Linked DNA regions of Homo sapiens: regions 2, 3, 4 and 5 are each linked to region 1. The links are contacts of gene promoters, found by promoter capture Hi-C in blood cells and fetal thymus (Javierre and others, 2016). All regions are on one chromosome and are shown on one strand. The core of a region is centred on a gene start or on the middle of the fragment in contact, and the rest is flanking DNA. Distances in the headings are between cores, read along the strand shown. Region 1 holds the start of CD1D (CD1d molecule). Region 2 overlaps LOC107985213 (a long non-coding RNA gene). Region 3 overlaps OR6P1 (olfactory receptor family 6 subfamily P member 1). Region 4 has its middle 29 kb from the start of OR10R2. Region 5 has its middle 33 kb from the start of OR6Y1.

What was found. Contacts are between HindIII fragments. The CHiCAGO score rates a contact against its expected background, and 5 or more counts as called.
Region 2: a fragment that was not itself captured here is called in contact with the fragment with the promoter of CD1D in region 1 in 6 of 17 cell types (fetal thymus, M1 macrophages, M0 macrophages and 3 more); the score reaches 11.8 in fetal thymus.
Region 3: a contact is called between a fragment that was not itself captured here and the fragment with the promoter of CD1D in region 1, in 1 of 17 cell types (fetal thymus). The highest score is 5.1, in fetal thymus.
Region 4: a fragment that was not itself captured here is called in contact with the fragment with the promoter of CD1D in region 1 in 5 of 17 cell types (fetal thymus, monocytes, M0 macrophages and 2 more); the score reaches 8.2 in fetal thymus.
Region 5: a contact is called between a fragment that was not itself captured here and the fragment with the promoter of CD1D in region 1, in 1 of 17 cell types (fetal thymus). The highest score is 5.7, in fetal thymus.

Annotation. Positions count from the first base shown.
Region 1 is chr1:158,179,602-158,183,097 of GRCh38, forward strand. It overlaps CD1D (CD1d molecule), which reads left to right and starts at 1,294. Exons shown (of 6, transcript NM_001371762.2): 1 at 1,294-1,561; 2 at 1,854-2,120; 3 at 2,431-2,709; 4 at 3,277-3,496. The coding sequence starts at 1,501. RefSeq lists a silencer at 303-352 and an enhancer at 1,765-1,824. The HindIII fragment of the contact is 7,344 bases long and covers 1-3,496 here.
Region 2 is chr1:158,482,739-158,485,897 of GRCh38, forward strand. The region is part of intron 2 of LOC107985213 (a long non-coding RNA gene); the gene reads right to left. Among named protein-coding and RNA genes, the nearest start is that of OR10R2, 12 kb to the left of the region's middle. The HindIII fragment of the contact is 1,988 bases long and covers 575-2,562 here.
Region 3 is chr1:158,560,554-158,563,866 of GRCh38, forward strand. It overlaps OR6P1 (olfactory receptor family 6 subfamily P member 1), which reads right to left. Exons shown (of 3, transcript NM_001160325.2): 3 at 53-3,073. The coding sequence starts at 3,051. The coding sequence ends at 2,098. Among named protein-coding and RNA genes, the nearest start is that of OR6Y1, 7.8 kb to the left of the region's middle. The HindIII fragment of the contact is 1,212 bases long and covers 1,361-2,572 here.
Region 4 is chr1:158,499,572-158,502,641 of GRCh38, forward strand. No RefSeq gene overlaps it. Among named protein-coding and RNA genes, the nearest start is that of OR10R2, 29 kb to the left of the region's middle. The HindIII fragment of the contact is 6,418 bases long and covers 1-3,070 here.
Region 5 is chr1:158,520,185-158,523,382 of GRCh38, forward strand. No RefSeq gene overlaps it. Among named protein-coding and RNA genes, the nearest start is that of OR6Y1, 33 kb to the right of the region's middle. The HindIII fragment of the contact is 695 bases long and covers 922-1,616 here.

The DNA of each region.
Region 1 (3,496 bases), core at 44-2,543:
TGTACAAGCAGTGGAGGTTGGGACTGCCCTACTTCTCCTGCCTAGGGTCACACAGTCTGGCAGATCTGGAAAGACTTCCCTGAGAAAGTGACCTTGGAACTGATACCTTAGTGGAAATAACTAGGCATTGGGAGGGGGTGAGGTGAGGAGAAGGTCAAGAGCTTTCATGTAGAGGGAACTTTGTGCAGAGACCTTAGTCAGGAAGAGGTTTTGCATAGTGGAGGAACTGAAAGCTAACAGCCAGGCTACAGTACAGAGCAAATGATGCTGGGGTGTGAGGTGATGTCAAAAGGTAGACACCAGGGCTAGAGGGCGCATAATCTTGCAGGCCGTGCTAATGATTTTGTTTTCTACCCAAGAATGCTACTTCAGGAGATCAGTCAAAAGGTTAGGGTGATGGTGACGGTGGAAATATAGAAAAAGGAATTTATTCAAGAGGTATTCAAAAAGAAGTGAAATAGAGATGAGTTGGAGATAGATTGGATAAAAAGAGTGAGGGAGAGGGAGGTGTCAGGCTGCAGCCCAGGTTCTGAGTTGCCAAAGAGGAGTCTTTTCCTCCAGGTGAGCTAAGGCTTAGAACCACGATTTTTGGTCACTTTTTCTTATTTTCAGTGTGAGAAGTGGCGAGTTGGCTGTCCAGGTACACACTGTCATCTTACACTTACTGTTTAAGACAGAGGCGCATATTTGGAAAGTGAATGAGTCAGGAGCCAGAGGAGAAGGTATGCCGGCAGAGCCTAGGGCGGAGAGGAGGAAGAGAGTCTGGGGGCGCGTCCCCAAAAAGGAGACAGGGAAGACAGAGCAGAGGCCGGGGAGGGGAGAGCAAGGACCATGACAGGAGGAAAGAGAGGCTAGGGAACACTGAGGTGGAGGAATCCTGGGATATGACAGTTGTAAAGAATTGTAGCCAACCTAATCCAGTTCTCTCAATGTGCAACTGAGGAAATTAATTTTCATGCGTTTACTTTATTGTAAATGTGGTACTTGCACTTGAGAAATTTTGGAAAACATAAAGATGTAAAGCAAATTAAGATCACTCATAGTCTTTCCACCTAGAGACATGTACTGCTAAAGCAAGGACTTTGATCCTTTTTTCCCTTTGCATTTTTACCATGGTTGGAATTGTAACACAGACACAACCTTATGTCCTGCTTCCAAAACATAAATAATGGTTGTAAAGCGTCCCACACGTTGACCCAAAGTCTCCTTTGAAACAGGAAATTGAGACACGCCGGTTGTGAAACCTACTGAAGTGAGCGGCGGCGCCAGGATTCCTGGGACCCCGACCTCTTTGCAGCTCGCACAGCTAAGGGCGAGGGCGCCCTTCGGCAGAAGCAGCAAACCGCCGGCAAGCCCAGCGAGGAGGGCTGCCGGGGTCTGGGCTTGGGAATTGGCTGGCACCCAGCGGAAAGGGACGTGAGCTGAGCGGCGGGGGAGAAGAGTGCGCAGGTCAGAGGGCGGCGCGCAGCGGCGCTCCGCGAGGTCCCCACGCCGGGCGATATGGGGTGCCTGCTGTTTCTGCTGCTCTGGGCGCTCCTCCAGGCTTGGGGAAGCGCTGAAGGTGGGTGGAACGAGGGCGCTTGAGTGCACTCGCGGGAGGGCGGAGAGAGGGAGCTGGGTAGGGACGGGGAGGGCAACGCCTGATGGGGACTGGTGAGACCCGGGACGCACTGGCGCGATCTAGGTAGAAAACTCGCTGCTCCCTGGCTCCGGGGAGAGGCAGCGCGGCACAGAGTTCGCTGGCATCAGCCGCCTCCTGAAGCTCATCTCCTCTTGTTTCTTTCTTCCTTCTCTTTATGCTGGCTGCTCTCCCGGCCACTTGCTACACGCCTCCAATCTTCATTCTCTCCCAGTCCCGCAAAGGCTTTTCCCCCTCCGCTGCCTCCAGATCTCGTCCTTCGCCAATAGCAGCTGGACGCGCACCGACGGCTTGGCGTGGCTGGGGGAGCTGCAGACGCACAGCTGGAGCAACGACTCGGACACCGTCCGCTCTCTGAAGCCTTGGTCCCAGGGCACGTTCAGCGACCAGCAGTGGGAGACGCTGCAGCATATATTTCGGGTTTATCGAAGCAGCTTCACCAGGGACGTGAAGGAATTCGCCAAAATGCTACGCTTATCCTGTGAGCTGAGGGATAGGATCCTGGGCCGGTACCCAAGGGGAGAGAATGGCCACAGAAACTCAACTGGGAGACTGTGGCACCACCTGATGAGATTCTCTGCTCTGTCCACCCTCTTCTGATTTCCCTTCTACCTGGAGATGTCCCAGGCTTTGACTCCTCAAAGTGTCCCTCGTTCCTGCCTACTCCAGGTCACTTACTTTCCTTTCCCTGAAGTCTGGGTCCCCATTATAACCTGCACATCAATTTCTTCTCTTTCATCTCTCCCAGTCTTTTAAACCCTTCTTTGATCTTTCTCCATTCCTCTCCACAGATCCCTTGGAGCTCCAGGTGTCCGCTGGCTGTGAGGTGCACCCTGGGAACGCCTCAAATAACTTCTTCCATGTAGCATTTCAAGGAAAAGATATCCTGAGTTTCCAAGGAACTTCTTGGGAGCCAACCCAAGAGGCCCCACTTTGGGTAAACTTGGCCATTCAAGTGCTCAACCAGGACAAGTGGACGAGGGAAACAGTGCAGTGGCTCCTTAATGGCACCTGCCCCCAATTTGTCAGTGGCCTCCTTGAGTCAGGGAAGTCGGAACTGAAGAAGCAAGGTCAGCCTGCCTTCCTTACTCCCTGCATTCCACTTCAGGGCTCCAAACGGGCTTTTCCATTCCAGGGTTCTCATCCCTTTGAGCATTCAAAGAAGAGGAAGGCCCAGGAGGGGCTGGATAAGGGGTGAGGGTATTTATTCATTTCACAGACATCAACTGAGCACCTCTTGGGTTCTATGAATTCAATTAATGAACAACTGGGGGTGAAAGGTGTCAGGCAGTTAGTTAGGATCCCTGCTTGGTAGGGGGATGTTAATTAATGCAATGCTTGAAATAGGCTACATATGTTACTTCAAAACAAAGGGTGTTATAGGGGAACAGACAAGGGGCATTCATAGGAGGCTGGGACCAGAGAAGAAGAAGGAGTATCAGGGCAGGCTCCCTGAAGAAGGTGGGACAAATGGATTGAAAGTTGTGGGAGACTTCATTTCCAGAAGTGAACATGTCAGGGGCATACAGGAAGGAGGGAAATAAAGACCTGAAAGTCAAAAAGGATGATATGAGGCCTGGAGCCTCTAATGCAGAGTTTTCACTTTAAGATCCCCCCCATTCCCTTGTTGGATACAGTGAAGCCCAAGGCCTGGCTGTCCCGTGGCCCCAGTCCTGGCCCTGGCCGTCTGCTGCTGGTGTGCCATGTCTCAGGATTCTACCCAAAGCCTGTATGGGTGAAGTGGATGCGGGGTGAGCAGGAGCAGCAGGGCACTCAGCCAGGGGACATCCTGCCCAATGCTGACGAGACATGGTATCTCCGAGCAACCCTGGATGTGGTGGCTGGGGAGGCAGCTGG
Region 2 (3,159 bases), core at 319-2,818, 300 kb after region 1:
GAAATAAACTACACTTAACATCTTGATCAACTTTCATGAAAAGTAGCTGATTTTTGTGTCCAACACTAATGTATAGAATATTTTCTGCAGCATGCCGACATGAATGTGATTCAAAACATTTTTTTCTATCTTACTATATGGCTCTAGTTTCCTACCATCCTGGCATATAGGTCTCTTGAATTCCTTTTTTTATTAGTAGAAACAAGAAAGAGTTAAAATTATGTTTAAAAGATATTATAATAATAAACAGTAGAATAATACTTCTACAGGAAAATAATTTGCAGTGACAAAATGGCCTTGTTTGCCATCATCATACTATAGCCATCATTAATTAAAAAGGCAGTAGAAGATAAACATAAATTTGCCATTCTGTGCACCACATTTCTTTACTTACAGCTTATAAAGTGGGATCCTATGGAGAATGGTCCTGTACCGGCCTAAGAATCAAAAAAGGTCTTATTTGAAAAGATTATCTCCTTCTTTGTCCAATGTCTACCATCAAAGTTTTTTTTATTTTCACCTGTTTCATGAAGTATTACCTGATTTCCATTCTTCAAAACACCATAGCATTGTAAGCTTTACTTATACTTCTTACTGAGCTCTGACATATTGAGCTGATTATGTACATATCTTATTTTCTCTAATGGACAATCAACAACGTGAAAGGAAGTAATTTATTATACCGATACATTAACTCCTCCTAAATGTCTTTTATATCCCTGACATTCAGGAGATAACTAATACATGTCTCTTAACTTTAATTGAATAAATGACTTCTTGGTCTAGCTAAGAAAAACATCTGAAACTACATGTGAAAGTGTAGCAATATTTATGTCCCCCATAACAGTAATTAAAAATAACAATGACAATGATAATTTATTTTGCTCATTAATCTCTTAAATGGGAGAGGGCTTATAAGATTGGCTTGTCTTAACTCCATACAATGTCAACTGAGCTGCTCAACTAGAATTGAGGGACCCACTTCCATTTGGCTCATTTACACGGCTGGCAAAATGATGCTGATTTGTAGTGGAGCTGAGTCAGGGCTATAGGTTGTGAGAGTCAGTATCTCTCCATGTGGCCCTTTTCATGGGGTTCTATAAACTTTCTCACAACATCATGACTGGTTTCAAAGACTAAACATTCCAAGAAACAGAAAGAGGAAGCTGCTAGTCTTTTAAGGCATAATACCAGCAGGTTGTCTGCTCCTGACACCCAAAAAGACAATGATGTGATGGGCATAGGAATAGCAATGGACATTCCCTTGTGAAAAAGGAGGAAATTAGACACATCACAGTCATTGGTCCATAGAAATTCTGAAATTCATCTGGACACTGTTGCCAGTCCTATTTTCTGGGAATGAATTCCATGACTCTTAGATCTAACCTGTGATGCCATTTCCCCACTTTCTGATCATCCTTTTTTATCTGCAAGACATAGCTACAATTTGCAGACATGTCATTTCTTAGTCTGATACCTCCATGGAAGAAGTTGAGGGTCCAAAGGTCTATTCATTTCTGTTTGCTCTGTAGCCTTTAGCACATGTTGATAGAATGCCTTTTTAAAACTTGGTGAGTTTCTTATGTTTCAGTTTATAAATTAATTCCATTAGATAAAAGTCACATCCATATTCATTTCTTTATTATGGGTCACTTGTGAGGTAGCAGTATTAATAACTGCTGTATGGCAATTCCCTTAAGATTCTTAAAAAGACTTATTGCTTAACTTTAAGGAGTCAGGCCCTTAGGATATTTATAAATCTTGTTGGGTATAGCCTAAAATATTTCTGAGTTCTAACAAAAAGTATTACAGCTACATTCTTAAGAGGTTTACCCTGAGGCATTGGTTTCCTGATAGCACCTTGGATTTGATTTCTTCCTTGAAGCCATTTTGTACCTTGAGAGTCTTTGTTGAGAGAGACTGTGCATGAGAAACATCTTTATTTGCAAACCCAACAAGTTTTGTTTCTTTCTGTTTCCTCTAAATTCTCAGAAACTTAAGAAACTTTAAAAAATTATGTACTTTTAAATTGACAAATAGTCATTGTTCATATTCCTTAGGTGCATAGTAATATTCTGATATAAATAATGTTATAGGGATCAGATCAAGGTAATTAGCATATCATCATCTCAAACATTTATCATTTCTTCATGTTGGGAATGTTCAACACCCTCCTTCTGGCAATTTGAATCTATACATTACTGTTAACTATAGTCATCCTACAGTAGCAAAGAACACTGTAACTTATTCCTTTATCTAGCTGTAATTTTGTATCCTTTAGCAAATCTCCACCTATCCTTCCCTTTTCTCTACTATTCCCTTCCTCTAGTATCCTGCTGTCTACTCTCTTTTCATATTTTATCATTGGTTGGAATTTTCTATAGTCTTCCTAGAAATTTACCCAGGAAGATAATGAGATTACTAAATAGTCTATTTTCCAGGCTGTAGCATGTGGTCCTGCTGCCAAACTTTAGAGCAATGGATAATAAGTATCCATGTTTTACCTAAGTATGATAACAGTTTCCTCTCTGTCCTTCAAATATTTTTCTCTCTGTGCTTCAAAGCTTTACCAAGAGTTGCCTTATGATCCTTTCACCTTTTAGTAAGAGACTCCTTAAGTCCTTATGGATTATTTATACCACCAATTGCAAAATTAATGCCAAATGTTTTAAATGTTGATTATAACAGCACCCTGCCTTTAGATACCAAATTCTGTTCTCATTATTTACTGCTGCATAATCAACTCTCTACAACTTTAGTTGCTTAAATGAGCTGTAATTATTTTGCACACAAGTCTGCAATTTTGGCAGGGCTCAGTGGGGACAGCTGGAATTTGTTCTTTGTCCCAGCAGGTTGGATGATTCAATTGGGGCTGAAGGATTTACTTTCAAGATTGCTCACTTATGTGCCTGTTTTATTCGTGTTAGCTATTGGTTGTTTGCTCAGCTGGGGCTATTGGCCAGGAGCCTTGGTTTTTTACCATATAGATTCTCCAAGGGCTGTTTGGGCTTCCTCAAAACATGGTTACTAGGGTACAAAAGTAGATGATTCAACACTCCATAAGTAGCAGCTACAAGACTTTAGAGACTAGGGTTAATAAACGGATACAGTCTTACATTTACTATAATTTATTTGTCAAAGTAGTCACTCTTCCTATCT
Region 3 (3,313 bases), core at 717-3,216, 380 kb after region 1:
CATAAAATTAACTCAGGGAAGCAGGATAGCAAATCCAACATTCTAGAAGGGCAGTTTTAGGAGTTTCTCTTACAGAAAGGAAGTCCTGAAAGCAGTTGAAGGAATAGACTCTGTCATTTAAAGTCTTAGCTCAGGTAGGTGGACATAAGATTTTCATCAAGGGGTGCAGAGTCCACCTTAACTTGGAATTTTCAAGCCCTGTAAGAGCCTATATCACTTGTAACAATTTCATGGGCATCCATAGCTTCTAGAATTCCCTCAAAAGACATGCCAAGTTACAAAAGTAGCTTGAAGCTATTATTTCCCACTAGATATCCTTAATACATTCATCATCCTCCCAGTCCAGAGGTCATTTGCTGCTCAGAGATAATTTGTGCCATAAGTAATTTTGTGTAGTAATGTTTATTAGGTTTCTAGAGAACCAGAACTAGAAATTAATCCAAGATCAAATTTATCCAAAAGGAAAGAGAAAAAAAATGCTAACCCTTTGCCCGCATATGTGTTATTTATTTAATATTCACAACAAGCCCATATGATGGAAAGGGTATTATTTTTATTATCAAAGAGAAACTAAGAGCAGAGATGTAAAGTTTCTTGCCTATGATCACATAACTTGTTATTAGTAAAGCCAGGATCAAATTGAAATTTGCTCGTTCTAGGGTCTGAATTCTGAACTCCATGTCTCTCATAATTCTATGAAAGGAGAGGAGAATGTAATGTAAATTGAGCTATGTTCAGAGCTGTTTCTAAGGCTATTTAGAAATTTTATGAAAACAAAACAACTTAAACTGTTTTAAGTATCAGATCTTTTATTGTTATTTTGTTTTTAATACTGGAAAATCTAAAATGATTGTTGATAAAGTAGCTTGCATTGATGGACACATGTCTTTTTCTCCCTCAAAATCTGTCTCGGAATAGGCAAATGTGCACTGACCAACAATCCGTGTTTACTGGAATTTGTTCCAATATGCATATTTATTGTTATTGCATATTTATTTTGTTTCACATATCCCACATCTAAATAATCATTGAATTTGGTTCAATATGCAGAAATTTGTGTAAATGAGCCTAGATTCAAGATAAGAAAAATTTCTCTGAACAATTCAAGTAACTTTCCAAAAATCAAAGGAACTTGCTAGAATACCTATGATTCAGGCTATGAACCTGAGACATCCCAATTGCCATAGAGATATCTGCATCCTATCTATGGCTCTTCAATCTTCTTTCTTATGAAGGCATTTTCTGTTCTTACAATCCTTTGACTAGGAACACAATTTAAAATATTTCACTATCGGTATAGCCCTGGCACTAATTACTTAAAACAGGTGCTGGCCATAGCGAAGGAGAAGATCTGTATATAAGCTTTCTAGAACATTTTACCTACTACCTGGTCAATATTTGTTAGGTCAACCAGCTTTACATGCCCCTGAGATTCAAAGAAGGGAGATGGAGAGGATAGTTAGCCATATTGAGTCAAGAATATATGGCTGAATATCAGCACTGCATCTCTCTCTGCTTTGACTTTCAGTGAATATGAGTTTTGTAGATAAGATGATATGAAATTAGGTCTTGGGGTATAACCTACTTGTGTAGTTTCTTATGAAAGTGGGATTTGAGAATCTGGATCTTTGAAATTGTTACACTGAAGTCTACCAAATTTTTTTCTTGGCATGTCCACCAGTAAGTTCCCTTGTTTTCTCATATTATATTTTCTCACTTACGAAATAATGGGCTTGGTCTAGACTAGGGAATCCCAAACTGTCTATGAAATAGGAATTCCCAGGAAGTTTTGAATATTATTCACGGCAGGGTTACATTCCACACATACTCAGTAAGACTCTCCACATATTTTTTTGGGGGAATCTGTATTTTAACAAATTCCCAGGTGATTCTTCTGTAGCTAGTCCAACCTTAGTTTGAAAACCCCTGTAAAAAATAAATGATTCATAAAGTTTCATTTGTATCAGAAGGTCCCAGACAATATTTAGAGAAAATGTTGGCAAATTATATTTATGTTCCCTTAAAGCCTATTCTGATTCCTTGAGGAGGCCCTATTAAGATTCTGCTATTTTCACCTCTCCCAAGACCTGTTGTATATCAGTCCTGAACATCCCTAGGATAGTGACATCTGCCCATCACTGTCTTCCTGAAGGCCTCCTTCACCTCCTTGTTCCTCAGGCAGTAGATGGCTGGGTTGAAGAATGGTACAATGATAGTGTAGAGCACAGAGATAATCTTGTTGTGGTTGAAGGTGTACATGGCCCGGGGCCGTGCATAGGTGAAGAGAGTGGAGGAGTAGTAGATAACAACCACTGCCAGATGAGCGGCACAAGTGGAAAAGGCTTTGTGGCGTCCCCTGGACGTAGGGATCCTCAGGATGGCTGCAATGATGGCAGTGTATGATGAAACCACAGCCAATAGAGGGAGTAGAATCATCACCAGGGCCAGAAGGAAGTCTACTAGCTCTGCTTGCTCCTTGTCAGAGCAGGTGAGGTTGAGTAGTGGGGAAATATCACAGAAAAAGTGGTTGATAATGTTGGGTCCACAGTAGGACAATTGGGAAATAAAAAGAAGCTTCATCATGGAGCTGAAGAAGCCACTGCCCCAAGAGGCAGCAGCAAGGCGAGTGGCCAGACTGGAAGGCATGAGACTAGGGTAAAGGAGGGGTCCACAGATGGCCAGGTAGCGATCATAGGCCATAACTGCCAACAGCACACATTCAGTACAGGCTAAGGCAATAAAGAAGTACAGTTGGGTCATGCAACCTACGTAGGAGACTCTACCATCCTGGGTAAGAAAGGCTGCCAAGAGCCGAGGAATGGTGACATTGATGTACCATAGCTCCAGGAAAGAGAGATGGCCAAGGAAAAAGTACATGGGACGATGAAGGCTTGGAGCAAGCCATATTGTGAAGACAATAAGTGCATTCTCCAACAATGTCAGAAGGTAAATTGCAAAAAAAAGGACAAAGAGGAGCAGCTGGAGGGGAGGCGTGGTAGGGAAACCCACCAAGACAAACTCCTCGACATGGCCTCCACTCAAATTTCTCATGGCTCTCTGTCCACTTGAGTGCCTAAAATAAATCACAGGAAGAACAAGAGGTTTGAAAGATAGCTGCAACAAACCACCAACATACTCTCACAGGTTATAACCACTGAAGAGCTTAGTGGCATATTAATTATTATAACATTTTTCCTCTTCACTTTGCTGTTTTTTCTCTCACCTTATAGGAAAAGTTAACAGACCTGAGTACTCAATTACCTAGCAATCTTAACTACAGTGGGTATTTGATAAATACTTTCTGAGTGATTTC
Region 4 (3,070 bases), core at 205-2,704, 320 kb after region 1:
GTAGAAAATTAATTATACATATGTGTTTCTATTTCTGAGTGTTCTGTTTTGTTCCATTAATCTATTTGTTCATCTTTATACTAATACTAAAAGTATAGCTTAATAAACATTTCTTGAAATCAATGTAATGCCTTCTGGATTCTGCCCTCTTAGTCCTCATGGGAAGCCATCCATAAGGAAGAGCTATACTTTAGAACTTGCTGGAAAACCACTCTCTGAAGTACTCTGTGGGTGGGGGGCATCTATGGGAGGATGCTTCTGTTTGCAACCTTCTGGCAAAATACCTTTGATGATGGTACTGCCTGGGAAGTAGCACTACTGGGCGTCCTACTTGTTACTAGACTTCACACACACAGCATGTCCAGGCAGATGAAAGCAGCCAGAAATGGGAAGAGAACTCCGTTTTAACTTCAGTGTCCCTTCACGCCTTCTACAGAAGAGCTTAACATCATGTCTGCTGGTAAAGGAGAAACATTCCAGTAACACAATCAGGACAAGTAAAGGTAGATTTGGAGCTAAAAGGCAATTACATTCTTAATTTTCTTTCTTTTTAAAATTTTGACAGAATTTAGATTTATTCATCCCTATGAGCCCTAGAATTATGTTAATGTCAGGAGATGTTTATAAAATATACTCCACTAAAATTTTTCTGAAAATTCTAACAAGGACATTTGAAACAAGGGTTACATAGGTCAATTACAATTTCACTCAGAAAAAACAATAGCACTCTTGATTTATTCAGTAGTTGTTTTTTAATATAGCATGAGTCACAAATAAGCTAGTTTTTCAACTAGGTCAACACTGACTTTTTTTGTGTGTGATAAGAACATTTAACATGAATCCACCCCCTGATCAAAAGGTATTGGTAACTGTAATCATATATTATGCCATTCTTGCATTGCTATAAAGAAATACCTGAGATTGGGTAATTTATAAAGAAAAGTGGTTTTGTTGGCTCATGATTTGCAGAATTTACAGGAAGCATGGTGCTGGCATCCACTTGGCTTCTGGTGAAGGCTCAGGGAACTTTCAATCATGGTGGAAGGTGAAGCAGGAGCGGGCACATCACATGACCAGAACAGGAGAGAGAGAGTTGGGGGAAGGTGCTGCAAATTTTGAAATGGCAAGATCTTGTGAGAACTTACTCACTATCATAAAAATAGACCAAGTCATGCGAAGTTCACCCCCATGACCGAAACACCTCCCACCTTCAGCACTGGTGATTACAATTCAACGTAAGATTTGTGTGGGGACAAATATCCAAACTATATCAATATTTCTCCGGCTCCTCCCAAATCTATGTCCTTCTCACATTGCAAAATATATTTATGCCTTCCTAAGAGTCCTCCAAAGTTTTAACTTGTTCCAGTGTTAACTCACAAGTCCGAAGTCCAGAGTCTCATCTTTGACAAGGAAAGTCCCTTTCATTCATGAACCTATAAAATCAAAACCAAGTTATTTACTTCCAAGATACAATAGGGATACAGGTATTGGGTAAACGTTGCTATCCTAAAAGAAAGAAATTGGCCAAAAAAATAGGGGCTATAGGCCCCAAGCAAGTCCTAAAGCCAGGAGGGCAGTCATTAAATCTTAAAGCTCCAAAATAATATCCTTTGACTCCATATTCTACATCCAGGTCACACTGCTGCAAGCTCCTCAGAGAGGTGTCAGTCATGGCTCTCAAGGCTTAGGGCAGCTGTATCCCTATGGCTTTGCAGGGTTGAATACCCATGGCTGTTTCCACGGGTTGGTGTTGAGTGTTCTTGGCTTTTCCAGGTGCAGAGGGCAAGCTGACAGTGGATCTTCCTTTCTGGGGTCTGGAGGATGGCGGTCCCCTTCTCACAGCTCCACTAGGCAGTGCCCCAGTGGGAACTCTGGGGCGGGGGGCAAACCCACATTTCCCCTCTGCATTGCCATAGTAGAGGTTCCCTGTGGGGTTCCCCACCCCTGCAGCAGGCCTCTGTCTGGGCACTCAGGCTTTTCCATATGTCCTCTGAAATCTAGGCAGATGGTGCAAATTCTCATTCACTCTGAACTCTGTGTGCCTACAGGCTTAAAATCATGTGCAAATTGCCAAGGCTTACAGTGGCTTGAACTCTCCAAAGTAGCATGTTGAGCAGTACCTGGGCCCCTTTGAGCCCCAGTTGAAGCTGGAGCAGCAGGATGCAGGGAGCAGTGTCATGAAGCTGTGTGTGTGGCAGTAGGGATTCTGGGCCTTTAATGGAAGGGGCTGCCACAGAGGTCTCTGAGATGCCTTCAAGGCTTTTCCCCCATTGTCTTGACTATCAGCACTTGGCTCCTTCATAGGTATGCAAATTTCTTTTTTTTTCTTTTTTTTTTTTTTTTTTTGAGATGGAGTCTTGCTCTGTCACCCAGGCTGGAGTGCAGTGGCATGATCTCGGCTCACTGCAAGCTATGCCTCCCAGGTTCACGCCATTCTCCCGCCTCAGCCAGAGTAGCTGGGACTACAGGCGCCCACCACCGCACCCAGCTAATTTTTTTTTTGTATTTTTAGTAGAGATGGGGTTTCACCATGTTAGCCAGGACAGTCTCGATCTACTGACCTTGTGATCCGTCCACCTCAGCCTCCCAAAGTGCTGGGATTACAGGCGTGAGCCACCACGCCTGACCCACTTAAGTATGCAAATTTCTTTAGTAAAGTGGTTGTTCCACAACCTGCTTGAATTCTTCTCCCCTCAAGAGCTTTTTCTTCCTTTGCCACATTGCCAGGCTGCAGATTTCTCAAACTTTTATTCTCTACTTTCCTTTTAAATATAAGTTTCAGCTTTAAGGTATTCCTTTGTGCCCACATCTGAGTTAGGTTGTTAGAAGCAGCCAGGCCACATCTTGAATGCTTGGCTGCTTAGAAATTTCCTTCATCAGATACCCTAAATTATCATTTCAAAACTTTAACTTCCGCAGATCCCTAGGGCATGAACAGAAGGCAGCCAAGTTCTTTGCTAAGGCATATCAAAAGTGACCTTTACTTCAGTTCCCAGTATGTTCCTCATTTCCATCTGAGGCCTCCTCAGTCTGGACTTCACTGTCTATATCACACGTCAGCATTTGG
Region 5 (3,198 bases), core at 19-2,518, 340 kb after region 1:
AGAGTATAGAGAAGACAAAGGGGCCATTTCAAGACAGATAACTAAAGAGAAGGGATTAGCACACACATAGGGAGGTCTAATAGCTGCAAAGGGATCTCCTCAAATCTTTGGAAGAGTGCTAATTCGTACATTTGTTAGAGTAAACTTCTTGTAGAAGATGAACAACTACTGGAAGCAATAGACTAAACAAGTCCTAGAGTTCACACAAAGAAGAGTTTATATTCCCAACAGCCATCAAGTATAATTAATAGAAATAAAAAATATTATCTGAATTTTAAAAATACATTAAGCAGGATTAGCTGCAGACACTGCCAAAGAAAAGGTCAATTAACTTAAACACATAGCCAACAAAACAACCTGTAATTATAGCAAAACTTCAAAAACCCCAAATAACGACAACAACAACAAAACAAAAACAGAGGCTTGATGACTACGGTAAAGTGCCAAGCTGTCAAATATTCATGTAATTGAGATCCCTTATAAACCCCCAAACCCAAAAATGTCAGAAATTTCAAGCAGAATAAAAACCAAAATTATGCTAGAACATATAAGAATATAAGAATTCAATTATTAAAAACTAATGATAAAAAGAAAATTTTAAAAATAGTGAGAGACAAAAGGAGAGAAAGATGGTGAAACAGAAAGCCCACTGCTTACATTCCTTGACAGCAGCAATAAGTTCACAGCCATCAATGGGAAAATACCTCTTTGTGGGAGCCTTGAGATTTAGATAGGAGATTGTGAAACCCTAGTGAAGATCAAGATGTAGGAAAGCCATTTTGAGGGGGCAGACCTGCCAACAGTGGTCTCAGCTCTAGACTTAGCAATGGCCTTGTTTTATTGTGGACTTGGATACAGCCTTATTTTGCCATCAGTCAAGGAGCCCAGGAGGAGTCACATATACTAGTGCTTCAGAAAACAAGCTTGTTGACCTCGGTCCCAGGTGTGGAACTTGAAATGGCTCTGAAACTCAACTCCAGGCATTAATAGCTGTGGTCTGAGAGTAGGCTTGTCCATTCAAGAACCAAGAGAAGGACGAGCTTGTCTATGACCCTCAGAGGCAGACCTGCTGCCATCAGTCTCACAGAGGATCCTGACACAGCCTTGTAACTTGGATTCATCCCCTCTCAGGTGTGGTCTGAGGGCAGTTTTGCCTGACCAGGGACCAAATGGGGGATACACCAAACCTTGACCTCAGAGGCAGGCCTGCAGATCTTTGTCTTTACTGCAGCCCTGTGACTTATATTCATCTCCTCTCAACTGTAGGCCAGGACAAGTACTGCCTGCAAAGGGACCTACCCAGTCACTTAATGGGAGCTCTCCCAAAGACCTGGAGGAAACCATACCCATCCACAAACCTAGTAACAGGCCTACCATCTGTGGACTCTGAAATGGATCCTCATTCTAGCACCAACCCTACTGCCCAATGTACTGGAGGTAATTCAGTCCACCCGGGGGGAACCAGACAGAATCCATACCCACTGGAGGCCCTGGTAACAGGTCTATTAAGCACAGATCCCATTGTAGATGAAGAGGCAGCCACATGATCTAGCTCGAAACCCACTTTACTAGGATCCTGGGGGCAATCTCACCAGCATAGAGGCTCAACAGGAGAAAGCTTTTATCTGCCAAAAGCAGTGTTTAAATGCCAGAAAAGATGTTTATTCAGACATCAATGCGCAGACATCAATGCAATCTATACAGATAATGAAGAATTAGGCAAATGTGACACCACCAAAAGAAACTAGTAAAGCTTCAGTAGTAAATCACAAAGAAATAGAGATCTAGGAATTGCCTGAGAAAGAATTCAAAATAACCATCTTAAGGATCTTGAAGAAATGCAAGGAAATGCACATAGAAAATGAATTGAAATTAGAAAAACAATAATAAACTACCGGTGTCTCAGAAGGAAAAAGAAGCAAATAAAGAGGCATAAAGCTTATTTAAAGAAATACTGGCTGAAAACTTCCAAAATCATGGGAGAGACATAGACTCAATACAGTTTCATGGAAATCAAAATGTCCAAACAATATCAACCCCAACAGTAACACTCTGAAGCACATTATAATCAACTTATTATAAGTCAAACACAAAAAGAGACTTTTGAAAGCAGCAGTAAAAAGAAACTTGTCACCTAAAAGGGAACCCCTTTAAGGATATCAGCAGACTTGGCAAAAACAAAACAAAACCTAAAAAAAAAAATTTTATATGCCCGGATGGTGTGGGATGATATAGCCAAAGAGCAGAAAGAAAAAAATAAAAACTGCCCAAGAATACTATACGTAAAAAATCTCTCTCAGAAATGAAGCAGAAATAAAGACATACTCAGACAAAGGTAACACAGGAATGGAAAACCAAACATTGCATGTTCTCACTCATAAGTAGGAGTTGAACAATGAGGATACATGGACACAGGGAGGGGAACAACACACACCACGGCCCGTGTGGGGTTGGGGGGCAAGGGGAGGGAGGGAGAGCATTAGGACAAATAGCTAATGCATGCAGGGCTTAAAATTTAGATGACGGGTTGGTAGGTGCAGCAAACCACCATGGCACACATATACTTATGTAACAAACCTACACATTCTGCACTTGTATCCCGGAACTTAAAGTAAAATGTAAAAAAAAAAAAAAAAAAAAAAAAAAATACTAGAGTTCTTCAAGTTGTAACAAAAAGATGTTAAAGCCAGGTGCCGTGGCTCATGCCTGTAATCCCATCACTTAGGGAAGCCAAGGTGGGAGGATCATTTGACCTCAGGAGTGTAAGACCAGCCTGTGTAACATAGCGACATCACATCTCTAAAATAAAGAAATAGATAACATGAAACATTTTTAAGAAGTTAATAGTTAAAAAAGCCACTAGTAAAAGTAAATAGTCAAATCTGGAATAATCTAATACTGTAATGGCACTGTGTAAATCATTTTAAATTCTATTATAAAAGCTTAAAACACAGAAATATTGAAAATAACTATATCTATTCTAATTTGGCAATGAATACACAATCTAGAAAGATGTGAAGTGTGACATGAATAACATAAAATGTGGGCAGAGTGAAGTAAAAGTGTAGAGTTTTTGTATGCAATTTCAGTTGTTAGCAGCTTAAATTAGAATGTTATAATTATAAGATGTTTTATATAAGCCCCATGATAACCAAGTAGAAAAACAACTCTAGTTGATACATAAAAAACAAAGACATG